5 separate regions of the Homo sapiens genome follow, and all the other regions are linked to region 1. Evidence: promoter capture Hi-C in human tissues and cell types (Jung and others, 2019). All regions are on one chromosome and are shown on one strand. The core of a region is centred on a gene start or on the middle of the fragment in contact, and the rest is flanking DNA. Distances in the headings are between cores, read along the strand shown. Region 1 holds the start of GGACT (gamma-glutamylamine cyclotransferase). Region 2 overlaps UBAC2 (UBA domain containing 2). Region 3 has its middle 22 kb from the start of LNCARGI. Region 4 has its middle 19 kb from the start of LINC01232. Region 5 overlaps ITGBL1 (integrin subunit beta like 1).

Region 1 (3,631 bases), core at 707-3,206:
ATGCCTTTTACGGAGCAAGCTCCGCAGTCCAGGGGCAGGTCCTCACGGCCTAAACACGGCTGCCTTATCCTGAGTAGTTTTACTGACAATAGAGCTTCAACTGAAGAATGAATTCCTGTTCAGCAGGACACTGGGCAGTCATGTTTAATTGAGAACTCTTAAAATTCCTAATAGAGTTTGCCTAGATGGAGGATGTTCTAAAGAGGGCTGCGAATATTTCGTGTTTCTGTCCTCTTACTGTCACCTTTCCTTGGGTCCTGTCCCCTCTTCAAGCATGGCTGCACTACACTTCCACACCAGCCTGCTGGTGTCCTAATCACTGGTAAGGGCCCTGGCTCGAGGTGGATACAAAGCCTCCCAATGACTTCACTTCAAGAATGGACACAGATTGGAAATCTTACTAGTAAAGAGAGAAATGAACAGATCATTTTAAAATCCCTCTTCTATTCTGCTTACTGCTACCTACTATCCAGATCACCACAAACAACCACCCTCTCCTAACTAGTAGTAGTTAGGGCCTGGTTAGTAAAATCAACTAGCCCAAAGTATTTCCGTACAAAAATCCACCAATTAGAAATTAATTTAACTTTGCAAACTCAGCTTTTACAATACGAATCTCTGCTAGAACACAGTGGTCTGCTTATTCAGGGAAGTCTGGCTTCTTCTGGGAATAGTTTCAGGAAAACAAGGCATTTTGGGAAAATACGGGCAAACTGCAGGTGCTCTTCATCTGAGCATTTCAATAAATTGAATGAGGCCAGGGAAAAGTCTTCACTTACAGGTAAATGTACATAAGGACACCTACGTGTGTGTAAGACCTACACTTTAAATAGGTCACCTTTAGTTTTTCATTAATCATTTCTCCTGGGACATTTAGCAAAACGAATAACTTGCTTTTAAAAAAGGCCACAAATCCCGGGTGCAGTGGCTCATGCCTGTAATCCCAACATTTTGGGAGGCCAAGGCGGGCGGATCACGGGGTCAGGAGTTCGAGACCAGCCTGGCCAACATGGTGAAACCCTGTCTCTACTAAAAACACAAAAATAAGCTGGGCGTGATAGCAGGCGCCTGTAATCCCAGCTACCCGGGAGACTGAGGCAGGAGAATCGCTTGAACCCGGAAGGCAGAGGTTGCAGTGAGCCGAGATCGCGCCACTGCACTCCAGCCTGGGCAACAGGGCAAGACTTCATCCCAAACAATAAAAAGGGCCAGAAATCGACTGCATTTTCTTATCACTTAAATATTAAATCAACTAAGCGTGGAGTTAAGAAGCTGTGTTCAAAAAACACTTAAGTCTGCTTTTGAGCTTGTGGCGTTGTCCTTGGCCCACAGAGTAAAACAGCAATGATAACCATAATTAATAATCAAGGCAGTAAATTTCTTCAAAATTTCAGAAGTTTCACTAATGGCTCCAAAGAAACCTTAGATCAGAAATTCACAAGTGCCAGGAGACGTTTTTAGATTTCTTTTGCAGCTTCTAGTCTCCTTACAAACAGGAAATCTTTAAAATGAAAAACAATTTCTGAGAAGTGTTAGCCCGGTTCAGCTGAGGTCCTCTGAAAGCCAGCGTGTGGGCTGTCACGCTTCCTTTACAGGGAAGCAGCGCCCGTGCGTGAGGCGGTTCCTGGCTTTTACCGCCCTCTGCCCGTTCTGGCAATCGCGCCCGTGGCCCCCGCGCGGGGCAATGGAGGACGCGTTTCGGGGTCCACCGTCCCCTCCCTCCGGCTGGCCTCGCCGGCCGGCGGCGCCCCAGGCCTCCTCCCTCACCCGCGGGGACGCCGAGTGCTGCGGCCTCGACCCGGACGCCGCGCAGGGAGCGACGCCCCAGGTTCCCGCGGGCGCCAGGACACCCCGCCTGGGGGGCGGAGCAGGCGCAGCCCCGACCCCCGCCCGGGCTCAGCGCCTCACCTGCCGGCAGCCGGGGCTGTCGGGGAGGGCAGGGCCAGGGCGGAAATGCAGGGCCGGGCCCGCGCCTCTGCTCCCAGGCCGCCCCCGGCGGCGCCCCCTGCAGGCGGAACGCGAGGCCCGCCAGCCCCTGCGGCGCCCTCGCACACACGTGGCCGCTCGCACAACTGGCCGCCTAACAGCCAGACCCACCCACGCCGATGCCCGCCGGAGACGCCCCGCCGCAGACACAGCGCAACCAGCTTCACACACCTGGGGACGCCCCACAGAAGTCACATCCACCCTAACACACCTGGGCACTCAGGCTCAAGCCCCGACTGCATGGTGGACCCTGACACACCTGGGCCACACCCCACAAAACAGACTCACAGACGACTCCACAAGCTTGGGGACACGCCACATCAAATGGACACACATGCACACACAAATGAACCCAAGCGCAGACACACTTGGGGATGCCAACCATGTGTGTATCTATCACATCACACACCACCAAGGCCCCCCAGCTGGGCATGCACACAGCCCTGATACCGAGTCCAGACCGCCATCTAGTCACACTGCCCACTTACTTACCAATACTCTTAAAATGAAACTGTGGCCGAAGGAGACAATGGAAGGATGACATCACCTCTTCCCTAGCTCCAGGACTAATTTAAGCCCCAGAAATTATAGGACTGAGAACCAAAATCGAAAGAGAACATTTTCCCTAGAGACAATGGGTTAAAGCAATGCCACTTGGGGGCCAGGTGGTAGGAATGGTACAGCTATGGAGAGAGTGACACTTCTGTCTCTCCGAAAGACACAAATCTGTGTTTATCAGATTAGCAATAATCCCCCTTAATCATTTCCTGCCCTTTCTACTTTCTCATGGATGTGGACTGATTGAAACCTTTATATAAACTGGTTTTTATCCAAACGTTTCCAACAATGCAGATGTAATTGTATTTTGAACAGATGTACAATTCCAAAAGAAATCTAAACCATCAGGTACATAAGTCGTTGGTTTTCACAGTTTTTTCTTGTCTTGGACACTTCATAATTAAATTGAAATGTATTAAAAAACCTTGTCTAGCTCATATTAATATTTTTTTTTTTTTTTTTTTTTTTTTTGAGACGGAGTCTCGCTCTGTCGCCTAGGCTGGAGTGCAGTGGCGGGATCTGGTTCACTGCAAGCTCCGCCTCCCGGGTTCACGCCATTCTCCTGCCTCAGCCTCCCAAGTAGCTGGGACTACAGGCGCCCGCCACTACGCCCGGCTAATTTTTTGTATGTTTAGTAGAGACGGGGTTTCACCATTTTAGCCAGGATGGTCTCGATCTCCTGACCTCGTGATCCGCCTGCCTCGGCCTCCCAAAGTGCTGGGATTACAGGCGTGAGCCACCGCGCCCGGCCTCATATTAATATTTTTAAAGACAGCAGTAATTCTTAACTTTTTGAAGCGAAAGAATGATTCCACTTTCATCTCTTTTTTGAGGGGGGAAAATCATGTCAGCAAAGGAAAGTGAGACAAATAGATAAATAATTCTTCTGATAAAGGAAAATTAAAGATGACGCAGACTAGACGAATTTTTTGTTTGTTTTGAGATGGGTTCTCACTCTGTCACCTAGGTTGGAGTACAGTAGCATGTTATTGGCTCATTGCAACCCCTGTTTCCCAGGCTCGAGTGATCCTCCCACCTCAGCCTTCTGAGTAGCTGGGACCTCAGGCACCCACCATCACGCCCGGCT
Region 2 (3,631 bases), core at 349-2,848, 1.3 Mb before region 1:
ATTTAGCAAGCAGACCCTCCTCCCAATGGGCACCTCCATATAAAGTCTTTTTCATATTGCTAAGCAGAGGCCCTAAAAGACTGTGCTGGCAGCTCCAGGAAAAGCTCAGTGCTTTCATTGCCTCAGTCATCATCATCATCATTTATAATGTTGCAGTTCAAAGTCTATTGCCAATTATCTTTTCCCTGACACTCCCACTGATAGTTGACAGGGAGCATTGAGGGACAGACTCATAACTTTGCAGCATCCTGCTCTTTATTCCAAAAGAGTTCCTTAACAAAGTTTTATGACCCAGAACGAAACAAAACAAAACATTGGTGTTATTGAGGGAATTAAATCTAACATTGAGAGAAATTTGGATTTAAGAAATATGTTATTTAAAAAGTATGTTACAGTATTAACATCTGGCAATATATAATCTATTCAGTCCTTTCTAGCCATTTGTTGGCAAGAAATAATAATTAAATTTTTTATTAAAACAAAACTTTTTACATTGGGAGTTATTAAGAGCGCCTCCTTTTGGTGTATTCGTTTACAAATAAAAATGAAATATTTATTTGCATTTTTATTGTGCTTTATGTTGTTTGCTTTATGTTGTTCTCTTGGGCTTACTTCCGAGTTGGAGATGGGAAAGTGCCCAATGAAAGAAATATAAAAGAATACTAATTGGAAGCTGAACAATTATTTTGCTTTATAAGGGAAGTCCTGCAAAGTTTGTCATACAGTTTACGTCACTATAAACCAAAATACAATCCATTTCACTTTCCATTTGAAGACTTGGAATGTATCATCATCTGCGTTTCTGTCATTTCACGTGAATTTTCTTCAGGGGCTGACTTCACAGCACTAGAAATCGATACACTGACTTGCCGTTTCAGCATCCTCATAACCTTTCTCTTATACCCTTTACATGCAAAGAAGTAGATAAAAGGGTCCATGCAGCAATTGAAGTTCATCAGGCATACTGTAAAGTGCAGAGAAATCTGGAACGAATGTCTTTGGCTACATTCCAGGAAATTAGAGAAACGAAGCTTCTTAATCATATGTTGAATAATTGCAACATGGTAAGGTGTGAAACAGAGAACAAACACAACAATAATAAGAATAATTGTGTTGAGAGCCTTTTTGTTTACACCAGATTTCTCAGTGAGTGGGTTTTGTTTGGCAGTTCTGAAGAGTTTGCAGCAGATCTGAGAATAGCAGATGAGAATGATTATAAGTGGAAGTACATATCCTATGAAACATGCCCCAAGCAGAATCCAGGGAAGAGATTTAGTTTCTTCAAAGTTTGGATACTCCATGCATGTAATCCTTTCAGCCTCCTGCTTTGACATAGGGTTGATGAGGAGTGGGAGTGTCTGAGCAAATACTAGAATCCAGACAAATATGCACACGCCTTTTGCATGTTCAATCCTTTTTATCTTGTTGTAGCGTAGAGGGTGCACCACAGCAATGAAGCGGTCAATACTCAGGCAGGTCATAAAGTTCACACCTGCATATGTGTTGATGTAAAACACTAGCGCAGTTATCCTACACAAGGCATCTCCGATTCTCCAGTCAAAGCCCATTGCATAGTAGGCTATTCGTGTAGGCAAAGCGGTGGTAAAAAGTATATCAGAAATCACCAAATTTGTTGAATAGAGGGTGGTAGAGTTGATTTTTTTCCTGTTTTGAACAATGACGACCAAGGCTAGTAAGTTTCCCACGAGCCCAATGATGAAGACGAGGCTGTAATGCAGAGGCATTACTATCCTGGCCGTGCTGTGATGTGCATAGAGGTCACAGTCATTTCCCTGAGGAGTTGCAGAGGGCGGAGTAAAATTGTTTGCCATTTGTATATCCATTGGTGGTGGTCCAGGTGTCTAGAAAAAAACCAAGAAGGATCATATAAGTAAAAGCATATGTATTCAGTTTGATTACTCATTAGTTTTAAAAAAGTTTAAATAATGTATCAAAGCAATCCAAACTGTCTTTTATATATCTAAGTTTTAAAATTTCATGACATGCAATTTTTAACAGTTTATAATTATAATATGGTTACATATATGATAACAGGAAGAACAGAATAAAATTTGTGTTTTTACTCTCACAATTTGCTGACTTTGGCAAAGCTCTGGCAAAGGAAACAGAACCATTTAAATAGGGCAAACGCACTTTTGTGACAGAAGGGAATGCACTAAATTTTTAGGCAGAAATTCCCCTTCCCTTTTTTGAATCATTGTCTGGTTAAGTAAAGCACCCCACATTTCAGACAGGCATTAAGCTTTGCTTTTAAATTTAATTTCAGTTGGATTTTTTTTTAACCAAATGCATATCACTGCCAGGAAATGAAATCAGTCACCACATTTATGTAGTGAAATATGAACTTACCACAGTGATCTGATTTGTGTTAACCTAAAAGTCTGAGAAATAGGCTTAGTCCATGTTAGGAACTGAAAGTTAGATTTTCTTTTTAAAAAGAAGAAGACGACGACCGCAACAACCATGACTAAAATGACAAAAAAAGAAGAAAGATAAAGAAAATGAGAGAGAAAAAGACTTAAGCTACTTCAAGGGGAAATTATTAAATTTTAAAACTCTATCAATCTGCAAGTACTCCATGGATCCATGCAATCTATACTTCTACCTTTGCACATAGTAGCAAGCATCACACTTTATATTTTGTTTCTTGCTTTATTCACCAAACATCTTCATGTCAGTGCAATGTATATATTTGTCGTGTATATTTTATATAAACATTTGATAGATATTCTACAGTCTTCCAATGTGTCAATGCATAATTTGCTTAGCTACTCCCTTGATGAACTTTTGGATTCTTTCCAATTCTTTTCTTGTTATAAATAATGTTAAAGCAGAAATTTTAAGTACTAAATTGAAAAATGGAAAACTCCTACAATAAAGTTCTGTAGATGAGGGTAAACTTTGATTAAAGCAGGAAGAACAGAGCAATAAATCCTGTGTGATTATTTTTAAAAGAAAAATAATTCCTCTGATAGAACTGTGTGTACATAAATCTCACCTGGAAGTCACCAAAATTAAGGGGCACTTTCAGCATATCTAGTGATGTTGCTACTGTATATTTAAAGAACTATACAGTATTTCCTTAAAGACTATCTCTACCCTGATCAAAAGCACTGTCTGCAAATCTGCTTCTCTCCCTGCTGTATTAAATGACTTGGATCTCAGCTAACTTCATTCTAACAACCTTAAAACTGAGATGTTCATAGACACTGAGGGTTAGCAGAGGATTGTGGTCATGTTATGTTAGAGGTATGCATTCTGTACAGTGTTGATAGGTTAGTCATTATAACCTAAATGGAAATAAAACCTAAAGCAAAAGAGAGCAAAAATGGAAATAAAACATTTTATTATCCAGAAAAGAGACAATGGGAAAAAAACAAAGAATGAGGATGGTAAGTAGAAAACACAAGAGGGTAGGGATGTGTCACAACAAACTTAAATGGGTTGAGCTTGCCTATTACAGGACAGAGACTATCGGTTTAGATTAAAAAAAAAAAAATTCCAGCTGTTTGCTGCTTAGAAGAGATACAGCTCAAAGTGATAAAGAAAGGTTGAGAATAAAGGCAAGAGAAAATACATACCAGGCAAATCCCAACCAATAAAAAGGTAG
Region 3 (3,631 bases), core at 355-2,854, 1.1 Mb before region 1:
CTGCAATATTTTTCTCCCTTTTTATTTCCTGCTTCCAAGACTTAGATCATACAGAAACCATCCTGCTGTGGCCCAGGCCTGTTGTGAGATCACTAAAAATCAAGGTTCTGGGTTCTGGAAAAAAAGCTTCAGACTCCAGAGACAAGCGAAGCAGTTTGCTAAGAATCAATGCATCTTGCAACAAAGAAAGCCCCAGCCGTGCAGCGCAGCCCACGCTCCTCCTCCTGCCCTGGTCCAGGTTCAGTCTCCCTGGCTCAGGCTGGCTTTAGGTCTGCAGCCCTGGGCCTGCTGGGAGGCAAATTGACCAGTGCAGCGGCTCCTACTCAATTTCACTCCCAGCAGGCTGCTCAGGGAAAACTCTCTGACCAGCAGAGCCACACCACTGGCTCCCAGTTTCAAGCCCTAGCGCTCTGCTCAATAATAAAAAAACACATTCTTTTCACACCTCCAATTCTTGAGACTCACCAGAAGGCCATGCACTCTAATTTGGGACCCCTCACCCTCACCCATTTCTGAGCTCATGAAAATATTAGTCCTAACATGGCATCATCATGTTGACAGTGGATGGGCATCTTGCCTGTGACTGTCCTTGCCAGACAGTGCCTTGCTTACCATGCAGGGTTACTAATTAAGTGCACAAAGAAAGCGATCTGGAATCGTGTGTTTTTTTTTCAATTGATTGAACTACCTGGCTTCTATGGATTAGCAAGTGGATTGGCAAGTGGATTCAGCTCCTCTTGTTGCTCCATTCCAGTCTTTTGGAGGGGATCAGAATATGCCACCTCCAAAATATGCCACTGTGGCATAAGATTATTTCGAGTTGAGGGCAATTAAGAAACAGCAGACACCAAAGGAACTCTCTTTCCTTCTGCTGTTTCCAAGTAGGCCATAAATTTCCCTTTGTAAAGGTGACATAAAATTCCATTTGTAAAGTATCCCCCTCTTCTGATGTCTCTCATACCATGAGGAGACTAACTCCAAATGGTTTTTATCTGCAAAACAAACCTTATTCACCATATGTTTCCTAGTCACCTTTCCACAATTTTCCACCCCTAGAAGCCCAAACCCTGCCTCCCTTTCTCCTTTGTTGAGTCGCCTCTCCACAGTCTATTTCCCTTCGTTAAAATGGTATATAAAGGCTGGGGGCAGTGGCTCACGCCTATAATCCCTGTACTTCGGCAGGCCAAGGCAGGAGGATCGCTTGAGGCCAGGAGTTCAAGACCAGCCTGGGCAACATGGTAAAACCCCATTGCTATAAAAAATACAAGAATTAGCTGGGCATGGTGGCATGTGCTTGTAGTCCCAGCTACTCCGGAGGCTGAGGTGGGAGGATTGCTTGAGCCCCAAGAGGTTAAAGTTGCAGTGAACCAAGATCATGCCACTGCCCTCCAGCCTGATCAACAAAGTGAGACTCTGTCTCAAAAAAAAAAAAAAAAGTTTATGGGAGTCCACTGTTTTGGACTTGCCTCCTACACTAGGTAGCCCCCAGTAGACCAGACCAAACCAGGATAGAGTCACTTGTGCTAAGTTCCACCTAATCAAACCAAACTTTGAGATGGAGCAGAGTTCCAAAAAACATCAGATTGGGGTCAACCTGAGTCAGCAAAATAAGGAAGTCCTCTCTGTTTTATCTGTTTATCTGTTGATGGACTTTTAGTTGTTTTCACTTTGGGGCCGTTATGAATAATGCTGCTAGGAAGAGATGTCTGGAAGTTTTTGTGTGAACATATGTTCTCTTGGGTATCTACCATGCAGTAGAGTGGTGGAGTCACGTGATGACTCTGTGTTAACCTTCTCAGGACCCGCCAGGTTGGTTTCCATACCAGCTGCACCACTTTACAATCCCACTGATGGGCTATGAGGGTTCCTATTTCCCTGCATCTTCACCAACACTTGTTATTATCTGTTTTTTAATGATAGCAGCTGGTTTTGATGTGTCGGGGATGATTGATGAGCGTGGCAGATCTAGGTTGGAGCGGAATGGGCGTCCACGTTAGGCTCAGTATGTATTGCACACCGTGGCAGGGAGTGTCTTCTTTTGGGTTCCCTCAGAATCAGACCCCAAGAAAAGGATTCCAATGCAAGTAGTTTCTTCTGGGGGAAATAAACTGCAAATGGACATGAGGGATCTTTTAAGGTGATGAGAATGTTCTCAAATAGGATTGTGGTGATGGCTGTGCAGCTCTGTAAATGTAGTAAAGATCATTGAATTGTACACTTAAAATGAGTGAATTTTATGGCATGTAAATTATTTTTCAATAAGGCTTTTAACCAATGGCACAGAAAGACTTAAAACAGGCACAGGGATTCAGAAACAGCCTGCCTCTTCATCTATCTCCATTAACAGACATCTTATTGCCCCTAAATCAGAATCCATTCTGCTGCTGGGGCAAAACAACATTTTTTTTTTTTTTTTTTGTAAGAGATGGGGTTGGCCGGGCGCGGTGGCTTACCCTTGTAATCCCAGCACTTTGGGAGGTCGAGGCGGGTGGATCACGAGGTCAGGAGATCGAGACCATCCTGGCTAACATGGTGAAACCCCGTCTCTACTAAAAATACAAAAAAGTTAGCCGGGCGTGGTGGCAGGTGCCTGTAGTCCCAGCTACTCCGGAGACTGAGGCAGGAGAATGTCGTGAACCCGGGAAGCGGAGCTTGCAGTGAGCCGACAGCGCGCCACTGCACTCCAGCGTGGGGGACAGAGAGAGACTCCGTCTCAAAAAAAAAAAAAAAAAGAGAGAGAGAGAGAGATGCGGTCTCATTATGTTGCTCAGGCTGGAATTGAACTCCTCCCATTAGCTGGGATTATAGGCACGCACTACCAAGTGCCTGGCTGGCTGCAAAACAACTTTTGCTGTTGGAAATCCATCAGACATTGATGGCTATAAGCTGGACAAGTGACCTAACTGCCTTGGGCCTCATTTTCTCCACAAGGACAGTAGTGGGTGTTCCTTACAGATCACAGGAGTGCCCAGCACCTCTAAATCTGATAACATTATACGTGTTACATGGTGCCCTCAGGGATGATTTCTTGGTGTTATTGGGGCATAAATACAGTAATGGGATCGTCATCCAAACAAAAGTGGATTGGAAAAGCATCCTAGTCCCAAGACGCTTTATAAAATGAATGTGACTTTTAAAATAAATAATATAACAGTGCTAATAAAGAAGAATGCAGCGCAGGGCATGCATAAGGCCAAGTACATTGGGGAAGAACGTTGCAGTGCGTAGCCTTCTGGGGGTGAGGCTTTTAACAATTTATAGGGTTATAGCAACTCAGCTTCAGGAAACCTCTAACTCAGCTTGATGAAGAATGAGAGGAATTTCCATTAGTTACTCCAGCTCTTACCCAGTACTCCTGATGATAAAAGAAAATGGAAACGACTGAAGCATGCTTTATATAACCAAGATTATTGATTTGATGAAAGCGGGTAATAAACTGCAGTAATGCCAGATGTGATTGGTTGAATTAGGTCATATAAACTCATTAGTTTTAGTCAAACTCTCTTTTAAACACAAGTCCAGAAATTTATCTTGCATTAGAACTTTTAGTAGCCCAGGTTTCTGTCATAATTTTCCCTCAACAGTTTTATAGTCAGTTGTGATTACCATCAGTGTTTTGAGATTGTACTTT
Region 4 (3,631 bases), core at 348-2,847, 1.1 Mb before region 1:
GGTTTGTTATCATCTTTGTTTCAAGCTAAAATATAAACTAAGTTCCTCCCAAAGTTAGTTTGGCCTATGCCCAGGAATGAACAAGGACACCTTGGAGGTTAAAAGCAAAATGGAGTCAGTTAGGTCAAATCTTTTCACGTCTCAGTTACAATTTTGCAATGGCGGTTCCATAGCTTTAAATGATGACTATCACAGTTTTCATAAATAATCTAGGTAAACAATTAAAATGAAATAATTAGGTAAATGTAATAGGATAAATACTTGTAGACAAACTCATAATTTAGAATCTAAAGTTATATTAAACTAAATGATAAATATTTCATTATTTGGGTATTTTCCAATAAAAATATATTTATAGGAAAACATTATTTCTAAAAAAAAAAAAAAAAATCTGTCCTTTTAAAAAAGGTGAACTTAGCTGGGCACGGTGGGTCACGCCTGTAATCCCAGTACTTTGGGAGGCCGAGGCGGGTGGATCATGAGGTCAGGAGAGCGAGACCATCCTGGCTAACACGGTGAAACCCTGTCTCTACCAAAAATACAAAAAATTAGCCGAGCATGGTGGCAGGCACCTGTAGTCCCAGCTACTCGGGAGGCTGAGGCAGGAGAGTGGCATGAACCCAGGAGGCGGAGCTCACAGTGAGCTGAGATTACGCCACTGCACTCTAGCCTGGGGGACAGAGCGAGACTCCATCTCAAAAAAAAAAAAAAAATGGTGAACAGTGGCCGGGCGCAGTGGCTCATGCCTATAATCCCAGCACTTTGGGAGGCCGAGGTGGGCAGATCAGCTGAGGTCAGGAGTTCAAGACCTGCCTGGCCAACATGGCAAAACCTTGTCTCTACCAAAAATACAAAAAATTGGCTGGGCATGGTGGCGGGTGCCTGTAATCCCAGCTACTCGGGAGGCTGAGGCAGGAGAATCACTTGAACCTGGGAGGTGGAGGTTTCAGTGAGGAGAGATTGTGCCATTACACTCCAGCCTGGGTGACAAGAGCGAAACTCTGTCTCAAAAAAAAAAACATTTGAACAATTTTTTGTCTAATTCAAAGCTTATTTAAAGGTCATGTATAAAACAAGGTAAAAGGAACCAGGAAATAAGAGAGATGTAAAGAAAGTTATAAAAATAATGAGGGTTTTTTTTGGTAAGAAACTTAAAGAGAAATAATTTCATATGAGAAAGAATCTTGTATGATAAATTTAGTCCTAGGGTAAAATGACTGGTTGTTTAAGAAGGAGGGATGTTCAGGACAAACCAGAAAGTCCAAGCATATGATGAACCATCTGTGTAAGTCACAATAAGAGGATTTATTTTTTTAAAAACCAAAAACTTTTATATGGTCAAGTTGTCGCATTATTATTAAGTTTTGGTTTGCTTAGGAAAAAACTGAGATTTAAAATTTTTTTAAATTCAGGTTATTACATCCGTGTATCTCTCTGTATGCACTTTTAAAGTACTTGTGACATTGAGTTACAGGGCTTTGACTCCTGGGTCTAAAAAGGACATCAAGTACTGCTAAATTTTAAATGCTGACAGTAATTGAAGACCCATCTTCAGGTCCAGTAGAAGATGCCAATCAAAATAAACTGCATACAGGGCCAAAACTTAAAGCTATTCAACTCCTCAAGGCCCAGGGACTATTGCGGAAGAGGTGGACGAGTGAGATTGTATGGGCCAATTTTGAGAGATAAAATATGTTCAATTTCTCTATAAATTAATCATTAATGTTAAAGGCACACTGATGCAAGACCAGCATATGGGCCCCTGTGTCAGATTAACAAGGTTTTTATGAAGCATTCACCAACTCCTTAATACAGGCCACCACACAGGCCAGTTTCTATTTTTTACTAATAAAAACATTATACTGATAAGCATACTTGGAGCTAAATTTTTTCATATATTCTAAATGTTTCCCTAGGACTGATTCTAAGAAGTATAATTGTTCTTTCAAATTGCATATTCTTAAGGCTTTTAAAAAATACGTAATGCCAAACTGTCCTACAGAAAGGCTATTAGACACTTGTCACAGGCCAGGTGTTGTGGCTCACGCCTGTAATTCTAGCACTTCAGGAGGTGGAGGCAGGTGGATCGCTTGAACTCAGTAGTTCAAGACCAGCTGGCCAACATGGTGAAACTCCATCTCTACAAAAAATACAAAAAAGTTAGTTGAGCATGGTGGGATACACCTGTAGTCCCACCTACTTGAGGGGCTGAGGCAGGAGGATCGCTTGAACCTGGGAGGTCAAGGTTCTCAGTGAGCTGAGATCGCATCACTGCACTCCAGCCTGGGTGACCAAGTGAGAGTCTATCTCAAAACAAACACAACAAACAAACAAACAAAAAACCACTCATCATCAGGGTGTGAAATAAGTTGGGTATTATCACTGCTTCCTTAGTAGCTTTAAAAAAAGTATTTTTTTCGTTTTCTTAAAAAATATGCAATTACGTTAATACAATAAGGCTGAATATTTATTTAAATGCTTTTTGCCATTTATATGTCTTTTTTTGTGTGTAAATTATCTCTTCATGTCCTTTGTGCATTTTTATATAGGGACAGTTCATCTGTTTCTTACTGTTGTGTAATAACTTAATTTTATTGCAAGTGTTTTCCTCCCAGAGTTTTATTTCAATGCATCTAAATTGTGTGGGCCCCTTTTGAGTCTTTGCTATAAACCTTATAAACCACGGATCCAGATTTAGAAAATAAAAATAAACAACAAATAAATTGTTTATTAATTATGCCCCAAATAAACATGGGACATACCTATACTAAAAATTTATTTGCTATTTATATGAAATTTATTCTTTTTGTTTGTTTGTTTGTTTTTGAGATGAAGTCTCACTCTGTCACCTAGGCTGGAGTGCAACAGTGCAATCTCGGCTCACTGCAACCTCTGCCTCCCAGGTTCAAGTGATTCTCCTGCCTCAGCCTCCCAAGTAACTTGGATTACAGGCACATGCCACCACACCCAGCTAATTTTTGTATTTTTAGTACAGATGGGGTTTCACCATGTTGGCCAGGCTTGTCTCAAAACTCCTGACCTCAGGTGATCTGCCTGCCTCAGCCTCCCAAATTGCTGAGATTACAGGCGTGAGCCACCACGCCTGGACTTTTCTGAAATTTAAATGTAACTGATAATACTGTATTCTAACAGCCCTAGCTAGAGGCCACAACTATAGTGGAGTGTGGCTGAATTGGGTATTAGGTTTTAAAATCAGCACATTTGGCAAAAATACTGAAGGCCAAAACTGCCCTTAAACGTTCTTTAAGTAGCTTTCAACATTCAGCTTGGAGTTTCGCCTTCCATTCTATATGGTAATTCTCATGCACAATAAAGTTAAGAACCTCTCAGGGAATAAAAGGTCATTCAAACCATCTCACTCTTGTGACCACAGGTATGAGGAGGAAAAACTTGGGGAAGTCAACATGTTCCTGCTCGCCTACAGGCTTTATTATGTTTTATATCAGCTGTCTAAAATGTTTAAACAAGTATTTATTGGTAGTTTTGCTGGTTAAACAAGATAAAATAGTAAAGTTCCTCTCACATGGGCATAATGTTCTCAAGTCAGCTCTCAAGAAAAACATGACCACAGTGTGACTCCGTTGAGTTATTTTTATACAGTTATCCTTCA
Region 5 (3,631 bases), core at 342-2,841, 1.0 Mb after region 1:
AGGGGAAAAAGGTTGAGAGAATTAAAAACTGAGAAAAATAAAATGATAAGAAAACAGAACGTGCCTATGGGAGAATAAAGGTGAAAGACCGCCAAAGATTTCTTCCTGCAGGTCTAGAGCATCTGAACTTAAAAAACGAAAAATTATTAAGGCTTCCACAGCTAATCTGGCTTTTGTTACTAATTGGATAGGATTCCAACTTTAAAAATCTCTTTTGAATAACTTCTGCCTTTAGGATTTGTTTTATTCTGCCACATGTTTTTAAAGATGTCAACATGTGAATGGATTTCAGATAGGAAAAAATGGTTGCTTTTAAACATGGATTCCGACTATGCAACTTAAGAACGTTCTCCCTTCAGTCGTGTGTCTCCCTTTGTACCTGCCTTTATCCCCAAGGTTTCTATTTTATTTTCCCTCCCCAGGGAGGGAATCCTCCTGTGGGGCACGTCACTGCTTGTGAATTCAGGTGGGCCTTAGTGGCAGATGACATTCTCTTGGGCAGTTAGGGACTTCCTGGGTCCCGCATCGGCTAGATGTATTGTTCTAACCTTCACAGCCATTAAACTTTCAAGAGTGGAGAAACTTTTTCTCCCTCTTCAATCTGGTTTTCAATGTTATTGTTAAAGTGTCAACAAGCAATGTTATTGTTCCAGTGTCAACAAGTCTCTCGCAAATGTCAGCATGTTCTGTACTTTGCCCAGTTTCCTCACAACAGATCTGTCGCTGAAATAAAACCACTTGTCTCCAAGAATTTCAAAGCCATTGGCTCCTGTGAAACAACAGAATTGACTGTACTTTAAATGTGAAATATTTATGTGTTAAAATCATTATTTATATAGGCATTTCCAATGTAGATCTGTTTGCAATGTTTGTCCTTAACCTTACATGAGGGCTGGAAATAAAGAAAGATAGGAACTTCTTTGTTTTGTTTTTTTTGAGTTGGAATTTCCCTGTGTCACACAGGCTGGCGTGCAGTGGCACAGTCTCGGCTCACTGCAACCTCCGCCTCCTGGGTTCAAGCAATTCTCCTGCCTAGCCTCCCAAGTAGCTGAAACTACAGGCATTTGCCACCATGCCCAGCTAATTTTTGTATTTTTAGTAGAGATGGGGTTTCACCATGTTGGCCAGGCTGGTCTTGAACTCCTGAACTCAGGTTATCTACCTGCCTTGGCCTTCCAAAGTGCTGGGATTATGGGCGTGAGTCACCACGTCCGATGGGAACTTCTTAAACTGAGATGAATGAATGGCAAAAGCCATAGAACCCAACAACCTATGAAATATAATTGTTAATAAGCATAAACCGTTACAAAAATTCCCATACTGTAAAGTCTAATCATATTCATATGTCATGTATGTTTATTAATAATAACAATTTTCTTTTCCTTTCAACTGAGGTCTAGAACAGATAATTATGGCAACAATTTGTCAAATAGACTCTGTTACATAGCAGATGATCAACAAATGAGCATCTGAATTGAATTGAATTTGGGATTAAATGAGAGATTTAAATTCAGTGATCCCTAATGTCTCATTCCACTTTGATTTATGATTTTGTGATTTTTTTTTTACTAAAAATTAGTTAAATGGTGAAAAGCTTCTACATATGTGTATTGTCCAGTTTCTTCAAATTCAGAAGATGGAACCGCAAACCTCAAGGAATATTAGTAAAATGGTCTAGTCTTTACTGGAGGCCAATTTTCATATTGGATGATATACATTAATATCAGATGCTAAAGACAGCATGCATTTTCATCCATTAGCATTTCTATGTACTTTTAAAAAGTGTAATTCCACTTTTAAAATTCTTCATGCATTTTTGCAGCAATTATAGAAATCTACTTTGTTCTATATCTGCGGTGATGAGTAGCTTCATGTTTATTAGGAATTATGGAAAGCTCAGTTGAAACTGTGCTTTCCTCTACTTGCTTATAATGTGGGAACTGATGAATACAAAAACCAGTAGCTCCTTTTTATGTAGCTTTTAAACTATTTAATGTACTTCCGAAGAAATGTGGATTGATAATATATTTTCTTCCTTTTTAAAATGAAGAAACTGAAACTCAGATGTGGTCATTTGACCAGCCCCACTCTGTAGGAAGCAGAATCAGGATTTGAACCCATTATTTTATTGATAATGTAGGTCGATTTTTGCTAAACCACACCGTTTCTCACAATTCTTTGCAAACTGTATATTCATGTGTTGAAAAATTTAATATCTTTTCTGACTTCTTTGGAATACACTAGGCTAATCTTCAAGGATTGTAAACTCCATGTAGGTTACTGGTTTTACTCTAAGGGTCTCCAGGCTAAACATGTAGTATTTGCTTAAAAAGTGCATGAAAATAAAGTGTGGAGACTCCATAAGATAACATTCTGCTTCGGTGAAGTAACCAAAACAGAAATTAAGAAAACAATTTTATCTGCGGTCGTGTCAAAAATAATATACTTAGGAATAAAATTAACCAAGGATGTGAAAGATTATTGCACCAAAAACTGTAAAACATTGATGAGAGAAATTGAAGACACAAATAAATGGAAAGATATCTCATGATCATGGATCAGAAAAATGAATATTGTCAAAATATTCACACTACCTAAGGTGATCTACAGATTCGTTGCAATTCCTATCAAAAGTCCCATGACTGACACCCAACTGATTTTCAACAAAAGTGCTAAGAACACACATTGGAAAAAAGATAATATTTTCAATAAATGGTGCTGGAGAAATTGGATATCCATATGCAGAAGAATGAGATTAAATCACTACTTCTCATGATATACAAAAATCAACTGAAAATGCATTAAAGTCTTAAATGTAAAACCCAAAGCTACAAAATTACTAGAAGAAAACATAGGATAGTACTTTACTGTGGGCAAGAATTTTTAAAATAAGACCTCAAAAGCAAAGCAACAAAAACAAATAGATAAATGGAAGGACATCAAACTGACAAGCTTTTGATCAACAAAGGAAGCAACTAAAAGAATGACAAATAGACCTACATAATGGGAGAAAATAGTTGCAAACTATATATCTGACAAAGGATTAATATTAAGAATACATAGGGAACTTAACAGCAAGAAAACAACCCAAGTAAAAATAGGCAAAATACATTAATAAATATTGCTCAAAAGAAGACATTCAGATGTCCAACAGGTATATGAAGATATGATCAAGATCACTAATTGTCAGGGAAATGCAAATCAACTCCACAGTGAGATACCTCTTCACTCCAGTTAGAATCGGTTTTATTATAGAATTATAATAAAAAAAGACAAAAGAAAACAAATGTTGGCAAGGGAGGTAGAGAAGAGAACACTGACACACTGTGGGTGAAAATGTAAATTAGTATAGTCACTATGGAAAACTGTATGGAGGTTCCTCCAAAAATTAAAAATAGAGCTGTGATATGCATATAATTCAGTAATTTCACTACTAGATATATATCCAAAAGAAGTGAAATCAATATGTCAAAGATATATCTGTACCCCTTTATTGCAGCACTATTTACAGTAGTCAAGATATGGAATCAACCCAAGTGGCCATTAACAGATGAATGGATAAAAAATTGTGGTATATATACACAATGGATAATTCTGCCATAAAAAGAAAGAAATCCTGTCATTTGCAACA

What was found. The method cuts DNA at HindIII sites, captures the fragments that hold promoters and counts their contacts. A contact is called where the count stands out against the background at its distance.
Region 2: a contact is called between a fragment that was not itself captured here and the fragment with the promoter of GGACT in region 1, in 1 of the 25 tissues and cell types used here (heart right ventricle).
Region 3: a contact is called between a fragment that was not itself captured here and the fragment with the promoter of GGACT in region 1, in 1 of the 25 tissues and cell types used here (dorsolateral prefrontal cortex).
Region 4: a fragment that was not itself captured here is called in contact with the fragment with the promoter of GGACT in region 1 in 1 of the 25 tissues and cell types used here (dorsolateral prefrontal cortex).
Region 5: a contact is called between a fragment that was not itself captured here and the fragment with the promoter of GGACT in region 1, in 1 of the 25 tissues and cell types used here (dorsolateral prefrontal cortex).

What each region holds. Positions count from the first base shown.
Region 1 is chr13:100,586,833-100,590,463 of GRCh38, forward strand. It overlaps GGACT (gamma-glutamylamine cyclotransferase), which reads right to left and starts at 1,957. Exons shown (of 3, transcript NM_001195087.2): 1 at 1,909-1,957. RefSeq lists a silencer at 1,590-2,109. The HindIII fragment of the contact is 6,002 bases long and covers 376-3,631 here.
Region 2 is chr13:99,294,302-99,297,932 of GRCh38, forward strand. All of the region lies in intron 4 of UBAC2 (UBA domain containing 2), which reads left to right. It overlaps GPR183 (G protein-coupled receptor 183), which reads right to left. Exons shown (of 2, transcript NM_004951.5): 2 at 238-1,862. The coding sequence starts at 1,844. The coding sequence ends at 759. Among named protein-coding and RNA genes, the nearest start is that of GPR183, 11 kb to the right of the region's middle. The HindIII fragment of the contact is 3,041 bases long and covers 79-3,119 here.
Region 3 is chr13:99,453,115-99,456,745 of GRCh38, forward strand. No RefSeq gene overlaps it. Among named protein-coding and RNA genes, the nearest start is that of LNCARGI, 22 kb to the left of the region's middle. RefSeq lists an enhancer at 255-754 and a silencer at 1,501-1,795. The HindIII fragment of the contact is 4,929 bases long and covers 1-3,631 here.
Region 4 is chr13:99,478,162-99,481,792 of GRCh38, forward strand. No RefSeq gene overlaps it. Among named protein-coding and RNA genes, the nearest start is that of LINC01232, 19 kb to the right of the region's middle. The HindIII fragment of the contact is 5,130 bases long and covers 1-3,631 here.
Region 5 is chr13:101,589,986-101,593,616 of GRCh38, forward strand. All of the region lies in intron 6 of ITGBL1 (integrin subunit beta like 1), which reads left to right. Among named protein-coding and RNA genes, the nearest start is that of ITGBL1, 140 kb to the left of the region's middle. The HindIII fragment of the contact is 3,689 bases long and covers 1-3,436 here.